Regions from separate parts of the Homo sapiens genome. Here all the other regions are linked to region 3. The links are contacts of gene promoters, found by promoter capture Hi-C in blood cells and fetal thymus (Javierre and others, 2016). All regions are on one chromosome and are shown on one strand. The core of a region is centred on a gene start or on the middle of the fragment in contact, and the rest is flanking DNA. Distances in the headings are between cores, read along the strand shown. Region 1 has its middle 15 kb from the start of SMCO1. Region 2 overlaps RNF168 (ring finger protein 168). Region 3 holds the start of TM4SF19 (transmembrane 4 L six family member 19).

Region 1 (2,700 bases), core at 121-2,620, 190 kb after region 3:
GCAGAATTCTGGCCCATGAAATATAAGAAGAGGCCCACTGTGGAGCTTCTGAGGCCGGGCACGGTGGCTCACGCCTGTAATCCCAGCACTTTGGGAGGCTGAGGCTGGCGGATCACGAGGTCAGGAGTTCGAAACCAGCCTGGCCAACATGGTGAAACCCCCATCTCTACTAAAGATACAACAAATTAGCCGGGCGTGGTGGCGCGCACCTGTAATCCCAGCTACTCGGGAGGCTGAGGCAGGAGAATCGCTTGAACCCAGAAGGCAGAGGTTGTAGTGAGCCAAGATCGTGCCATTGCACTCCAGCCTGGGTGACAGGGCGAGACTCTGTCTCCATAAATTAATTAATTAATTAATTAATTAAGACATAGTCTTGCTACGTTGCCCAGGCTGGTCTCCAACTCCTGGGCTCAAGTGGTCCTCCCGCCTTGGCCTCCCAAAGTGCTGGGATTACAGGTGTGAGCCAGAAAAGTTTGTTTAAATTGTGCAAAAATATACATAACAAAATTTACCATTTTTATATTTTACTTACTTTTTATTTATTTCAATAGGTTTTTGGGGAACAGGTGGTGTTTGGTTTCATAAGTTCTTCAGTGGTGATTTCTGAGATTTGGTGCAGCCATCACTCGAGCAGTGTACACGGTACCCAACGTGTGGTCTTTTATCCCTCGCCCCCTTCCCACCCTTTCCCCTGAATACCCAAAGTGCATTGTATCTTTTTTTTTTTTTTTTTTTTTGTGAGATGTAGTCTCTCTGTGTCGCCCAGGCTGGAGTGCAATGGCACGATCTCGGCTCACTGCAACCTCTGCCTCCCGGGTTCAAGTGATTCTCCTGCCTTAGCCTCCTGAATAGCTGGGACTACAGGCACATGCCACCAAGCCCAGCTAATTTTTGTATTTCTAGTAGAGACGGGGTTTCACCATGTTGGGCAGGATGGTCTCGATCTCTTGACCTCATGATTCGCCTGCCTCGGCCTCCCAAAGTGCTGGGATTACAGGCTTGAGCCACCGCACCCGGTCCACTCCGTGGCTTTCTTTTCATCATCTTGATGGTGTGTTTTCATGAACTAATGTTCTTAATTTTCAAGTAGTCCAATTTATCATGTTTTCATTTTGATGTCTTATATATGAAATTTTTCCTACCCCAAGGTCATGAAAATATTTTTTTCCTTTTAGAAGCTTCACCACTTTACCTATTACATTTATATCTGTAATATGCCTAAAATTTAGACCTTTGGATTAATGTGAAGAAGGTCAAGATTCTTTTCTTCTCCATATGGATATACAACTGACTCAATCCCATTTATTATAAAGAGTTTCCTCACTGCTCTGCAGTGGACTTTTGTCATTAATCAAGTTTGCATACATGCAAGCATCTATTTCTATCCTCTATTCTGTTCCATTGGTCTGCTTATTTATTCTTGTGCCCAAATCACACTCAACCTTAATTATTTTGGCTTCATTAAAAAGTCTTAATAACATACAGTGTGAGTCCTCCAGCTATGCTCTTCAAGATTATCTGGGGTATTCTGGGCCATTTGCATTTTCATATAAAATTTTCAATAAGCTTGCTAATTTTTAGAACGCTATGAGCTGGGATATTGAGTAGAATTACATTGACATCTTCATAATATTTAGCCTTCTAATTCATGAATATGATACGTATCTTTATTTAGATTCTCTTTAATTTTCCTCGGTCGTGTTTTGTAGTTTCCTTTGTAGAGTTTTTGCATGTTTTCCATTAGATTTATTACTAGGTATTTGATGTTTCTTGATGCTGTTGTAAGTAGTGTTTAATGTTTTTCTTATTGCTGTTATAAATACGACCAATTTTTCTATATTTACCTTTTTATTCAGCAACCTTACTAAACCCATTTTTCACTTAGTCGTTCATCTGTAGATGCCCGCCCGCCCGCCTGCCTGCCTGCCCGCCCACCCGCCCGCCTGCCCGCCCGCCTGCCCGCCTGCCCGCCTGCCCGCCTTTCTTTTCTTTCGTCTTGCTCTGTCACCCAGGCTGGAGTGCAGTGGCGTGATCTCAGCTCACTGCAACCTCCACCTCCTGGGTTCAAGTGGCTCTCCTGCCTCAGCCTCCTGAGTAGCTGGTACTACCGGCACATGCCACCACACCTGACTAATTTTTGTATTTTTAGTAGAGACAGGGTTGCACCATGTTGGCCAGGCTTGTCTCAAACTCCTGACCTCAGGTGATCCACCCACCTTTTCCTCCCAAAGTGCTGGAATTACAGGCGTGAGTCACCGCATCCGTCCTTGTTCTGCAAACACAATCATGTTGTCTGTGAATGACAGTTTTAGTTCTTCCTTTCCAATTCTTATGTCTTTCATTTCTTTTTCTTGTCTTGTTGTAATGTCTACACCTTCAACAGAATGTTGAATAGAATTAATCAAGGGAATTTCATTCTATTCTCAAACTCCTGACCTCAGGCCATCTGCCTGCCTCAGCCTCCCAAAGTGCTGGGATTATAGGCTTCATTCTATTCTCTTGTTACCAACATCATGAAGAAAGTTTCAGTGTTTTACCATGTTTCTAAATTATTCATGTCTCAAAGAAGAAAATACAATGAAAATTTTAAATGTTTCATTGAAAAACAATGAAAATGTGACATAAGACAATAAGGAGGTAGCTAAAACTGTACTTTGAAGAAATTTTGTCTCAAATGCAAAATAAAAGCTGGACATATCC
Region 2 (2,700 bases), core at 61-2,560, 150 kb after region 3:
CTCTTTCAGTGAAGATAAGCCTATCTGGGACCCATTTTTTTCATCTGAATTTAAACCAAGAGAAAGAGGAATCCAATGGTTCACTTTGAGAAAACTGGAAATCCTGAGGCAGTAAGATAAAAGTATGAATCTGCCACAGTAAGTGGCTGAGTGAGAAGCCAAGAGGAAGCTGTGTGAGTAGCTCTCTCCTTTTCAATTTACCTCAACCTCAGACTATTTTCATACAAAGTTCACGGACCAAACTTTGAGAATCAGTAGTAGTCTATATGAACAGAAAACACTGGCATACAGTAGGAGGTCAACAAATAATTCATAGTCATGTTCACTTACTTCTGAATATCTCCAGTGTTTCTTTGTTTGTTCTTACTTTTCTTTTCAGACTTGGGTGTAACTGGATCAGATTTTCTGGAATTCAAGGGAGAAGCCGAGATACTTCCCTCACAGAAATTGTTCTTCAACAATAGAAAAAGCATAACAGACATTATGAGAGAGAACTTTATGATAAAATAAGCTATTAATTTGACTAATTCAGAAATCCATAGCATTTTTCAGAAATTATAGTTATATTTAAATTCTGTACATCTCTTGAAGAATATTGACCATGCAAAAATCAGAATAAACTATGTTCATCCAAGTTGGTCTAAATTAATTACATTTTTACTGTACATCAAGCACAAAATAAGGCATAATACTAACCTCATTAGCTGATAATTCCTGTTGATCTTTCTTTCCTTTTTTTTTTTTTTTTTGAGACGCAGTCTCGCTCTGTTGCCCAGGCTGGAGTGCAGTGGCGCGATCTCGGCTCACTGCAAGCTCCACCCCCGCAGGTTCATGCCATTCTCCTGCCTCAGCCTCCTGAGTAGCTGGGACTACCGGCGCCCTCCACCATGCCCGGCTAATTTTTTGTATTTTTTTTAGTAGAGATGGGGTTTCACTGTGTTAGCCAGGATGGTCTCGATTTCCTGACCTCATGATCTGCCTGCCTCGGCCTCCCAAAGTGCTGGGATTACAGGCATGAGGCACCGCGCCCGGCCTTTTTTTTTTTTTTTTTTTTTTTTTTAAGACAGGGTCTCACTCTGTCGCCGAGGCTGGAGTGCAGTGTAGCAATCATGGCTCCTTGCAACCTTGACCTCCCAGGTTCAAGTGATCCTCCCACCTTCACCTCCCAAGTAGCTAGGACTACAGGCATGAGCCACCAGGCTTGGTTAGGTGGGTTGTTTTTGTTTTATTTTGAGACAGAGTCTTGCTCTGTCATCCAGGCTGGACTGCAGTGGAGTGATCATAGCTCACTGTAGCCTCAACCTCCTGGGCTCAGGCAATCCTCCCATCTTAGCTTCTCGAGTAGCTAGGACACAGGCATGTGCCACCATGCCCAGCTACTTTTTTTTAAATGCTTTGTAAAGATGAGGTCTCACTATGTTGCCCAGGCTGGTCTCCAACTATTGGAATCAAGTGATTCCCCCACCACAGCCTTCCAAAGTGTTCGGATTATAGGTCTGTGCCACTGTGCCCAGCCTGTTGATTTTTCTAATAAATACTTTTATATAATTACTTTTATCTATATGGACATATTCAGAGAGCTGTGGATATACCCAAAAGAATAGTTTTATGTAATAATATTTTAGTTCTGGACTTTAAGGGCGTATTAATAAAAATCACAAATATTTACTTGCTGTACCAGTCTCGTAAGTTTCTTACTACCCTAATGGAAAAGTTCATATATGGTGATGGTGAATATTTGGCCTTAAACCACCAAACTTTCATAAATAAATAGAAAATTATTCTAGGTTGGGCATGGTGGTTCATGCCTGTAATCCCAGCACTTTGGGAGGCTGAGGTGGGTGGATCACATGAGGCCAGGAGTTCAAGACCAGCCTGGCCAACATGGTGAAACCCCATCGGCACTAAAAATACAAAAATTAACAGGATGTGGTGGCGGCACCTGTAATCCCAGATACTCTGGAGGCTGAGGCAGGAGCATCGCTTGAACCGGGAGTTGAGGTTGCACTACTGCACTCCAGCCTGGGTGACAGAGTGAGACTCTTGTCTCAAAAAAAAAAAAAGTTAAAAAAATTATTCTACAGTATCAATAAATCTACTCTTATAATACCATGGGAAAACTAGATATACTTCTTCCCTATTCCATTTATTATTCCATTGGTCAATGACTTTTATTTAGTTTCCTGATTGTGTATTTCTAAAGCGATTCTACTTAAAAAAGACACATAAAAAGGGGCATATAACCCAAAATTTGGGTACATTATTATTAATGGTAGGCCTCTCAAAAAAGAAAAAAATTCCCAATTCTGCGTATACTCATTTTGCTAAGTGTATATACATATATATTTTTTTATTCTATTGAACTTCCCATGATTCAATGGTAAGTGTATGTTAAGATATTCGTTGTTTGAAAGCTGAAGAATTGTTTTCACAGGCTCTCAAACCTGAATGTTTCACACTTCCCTACATGCCTCTGAAGATTGTATTCCCTAGGTCCCATCCCTAGAGACTCTGACTTAATAGATTTGGAGTAAATATGAGAGTTTGTATTTCAACAGCATTCCCAGGTTACTCTGCCAGGCTCGTTCAAACCACTGGGCCCCACAGTACCCTCTGATCTTAAAGTATGTGTTTTATCACACACCATTTAATTCATTTTCTTACAGGCAGCAATTTAACTACAGGAAGCAGAACATCCAA
Region 3 (2,700 bases), core at 142-2,641:
TTTCCTTGAGGAGCTTAAAGTCTAGTGGGGACACTGCTGACGCAAAAAGCAATTCTTTTTTTTTTTTTTTTTTTTTTTTTTTGAGACACAGTCTCGCTCTTGTTGCCCAGGCTGGAGTGCAGCGGCATGCTCTTGGCTCACTGCAACCTCCGCCTCTCGGGTTCAAGTTATTCTCCTGCCTCAGCCTCCCAAGTAGCTGGAATTACAGGCATGCACCACGCCCGGCTAATTTTGTATTTTTAGTAGTGATGGGTTTTCGCCATGTGGGTCAGGCTGGCCAAAAAGTAATTCTAATCAAGTGTGGTAAGAAATAGAGCAGACATGAGCAGGGCGGGAGAGGGCCTCTACCCCAGTAATGTCAGGTGACTATCAGGTGATGGCCAGGCGGTTGTTACACTGTCTTTCTAAAATAATATTGGTCACAGCCAGCGTTGGGAAAGACAGTCTCCCAATAGATAGAAAATACCTGAACTTGGTGATCAGCAGCTTCCTGGTAAGAGCTCAGGAATTGGGCGAGTGGGCTCAAGCATCTACACTAAGAAGCAAAATGGTGGAGTTTAGCTGGTGTGTGTGACCTTCCTCTAGTGCTGCTCCGCGGGTAAGGGAAAAACGCCTCAAGTGAGCATGCGCACGACTTCAGTAAACACACTGCGCATGCGGCCCCTCCCAAGTGCCTGTGCGGCAGGCAGGCGCCAAGTCAAGGGTCTAACAGCACATTTGGGTGTCTCAAGTCACGCACTTGGCCCTTTTCCAAGTGTACTTTACTTCCTTTCATTGCTGCTCAAAAACTTTTTAATAAACCTTCACTCCTGCTCTCAAACTTGCTTCAGCCTCTCCCTCTGCCTTAAACCCACTTCTGCCCCTCAGCCGAATCTCTCCCCCGAGAAGGCAAGGATTGAGTTTGCTGCAGACTCGCTGGATTCACAGCTGGTAACAGTAAGTACCAGGCAGGGGCATCCAACTTAAGGTGTCATGGAAGCACATGGAGGAACCTAATCCTATCTGGCAGAAGCAAAACGAAGCTTCCCGGAGGAAGGGCTGCCCATGCCCAAACTTGATGGACGATGAGATACTAGGCAGGAAGAGTATTCTAGGTGCAAAGGCCAGAAGTTGACAGACTGAGGCAACAGGAGAAGGTAAGTGAATGGCGCAAAGTCACACAGACGCCAAGCTGCAGAGCCAGGCTCACTGGAGTGGAAGCGTGCACTCTCATCTGTGAGGCTAGGCTGTTCCCTGGCCGTCACCTCACCCTTTCATCTCTGCTTACCTGCATCTGGTGTCAAGAATCAGAATGGGAGAGACAGAACCTGGAGAAAGGCTGCGTCTTCAGAGTGGGGCTCCACTCCTCCAGCTCCAGGGCTGGACCTGAAGGTTGTCTTTCCAGGACTCTTTCCAGGAGGGCCAGGGAGGCTCTGTATATACGTAGAGGTCACCCAGGCGTGTGTGTGTGCGCGCCCCCACGCCCCTGCCCACAGGCCTGCATTGAAGGCGCTTCCGCTCCCCGGAGAGCCCTGTCCTGATGACCCACCCTCTGCTCATTTTCATGTGATTCTAAGGCAGGAAACGGGAGACATGGCCTCATGAGCTCCGCTGTCCTGATGAGTCACTGGATGCACCCGTGAGAAACACCTCACCCTCCGCTCTCCCCAGGCAGCAACACTTGCCACACCCCAGCTGTTCCTGTCCTCATCTGCCACCCCGCGAAGAATTTCGGCTCTTTGACAGAACAGCACCGAGCAGGGCAGCCACCCCTTTTTCCTCATCACTCTCCTTACCTTGCCCTTGGCTGACTCGATGTGTTGCATGGTTCCTGTACTAGACGTCTAACTTTTTTTTTTTTTTTTTTTTGAGACAGGGTCTCACTCTGTCACCCAGGCTGGAGTGCAGTGGCATGATCTCGGCTCACTGCAACCTCCGCCTCCCACACTCAAGCAATCCTCCCACCTCAGCCTCCTGAGTAGCTGGGATTACAGGCACCTGCCACCATGCCCGGCTAATGTTTGTATTTTTAATAGAGACGGGGTTTTGCCATTTTGGCCAGGCTGGTCTCGAACTGCTGACCTCAGGTGTTCGCCTCAGCCTCCCAAAGTGCTGAGATTACAGGTGTGAGCCACCGCACTCAGCCTCTTGTTCAAGCCCCAGGCCACTATCATCTTGTACCATACTCTCACCAAATTGCTGAGGATTTTGTGGTGCTCTCTGTGTGGGAGATCCGTGACCCTCTATGGACAAGCTCCTATTCAAGATTCAGTTCAAACATTCCCAGTGAAGTCTGCCAGGATTTCTTTACTCCGAGTTAGGTACTTCTTTCTCTATGCTCCCATTGCATTTTAAACATCTAGATATTATATACAGTAAAGTGCACAAATCTTTTCTTTTCTTTTTTTTTTTTTTGAGACGGAGTTTCACTCTTGTTCCCAGGCTGGAGTGCAGTGGCACAATCTCAGCTCACTGCAACCTCTGCCTCCTGGCTTCAAGCAATTCTCCTGCCTCAGCCTCCCAAGTAGCTGGGATTACAGGCACGTGCCACCACGCCTGGCTAATTTTGTATTTTTAGTAGAAACACGGTTTCTCCATGTTGGTCAGGCTGGTCTCAAACTCCCGACCTCAGGCGATCCACCCGCCTCCGCCTCCCAAAGTGCTGGGATTACAGGTGTGAGCCAGCACGCCCAGCCTAAAGTGCACAAATCTTAATGTTAA

What was found. Contacts are between HindIII fragments. The CHiCAGO score rates a contact against its expected background, and 5 or more counts as called.
Region 1: a contact is called between a fragment that was not itself captured here and the fragment with the promoter of TM4SF19 in region 3, in 1 of 17 cell types (M0 macrophages). The highest score is 5.2, in M0 macrophages.
Region 2: a contact is called between a fragment that was not itself captured here and the fragment with the promoter of TM4SF19 in region 3, in 2 of 17 cell types (M2 macrophages and M0 macrophages). The highest score is 8.7, in M2 macrophages.

Annotation. Positions count from the first base shown.
Region 1 is chr3:196,529,382-196,532,081 of GRCh38, forward strand. No RefSeq gene overlaps it. Among named protein-coding and RNA genes, the nearest start is that of SMCO1, 15 kb to the left of the region's middle. The HindIII fragment of the contact is 388 bases long and covers 1,177-1,564 here.
Region 2 is chr3:196,483,440-196,486,139 of GRCh38, forward strand. It overlaps RNF168 (ring finger protein 168), which reads right to left. Exons shown (of 6, transcript NM_152617.4): 4 at 331-452. Among named protein-coding and RNA genes, the nearest start is that of RNF168, 19 kb to the right of the region's middle. The HindIII fragment of the contact is 3,204 bases long and covers 1-2,700 here.
Region 3 is chr3:196,336,997-196,339,696 of GRCh38, forward strand. TM4SF19 (transmembrane 4 L six family member 19) reads right to left here and starts at 1,392. Exons shown (of 5, transcript NM_138461.4): 1 at 1,268-1,392. It overlaps TM4SF19-DYNLT2B (TM4SF19-DYNLT2B readthrough (NMD candidate)), which reads right to left and starts at 1,424. Exons shown (of 6, transcript NR_037950.1): 1 at 1,268-1,424. RefSeq lists enhancers at 916-2,115, 1,482-1,776 and a silencer at 1,525-1,696. The HindIII fragment of the contact is 5,119 bases long and covers 1,021-2,700 here.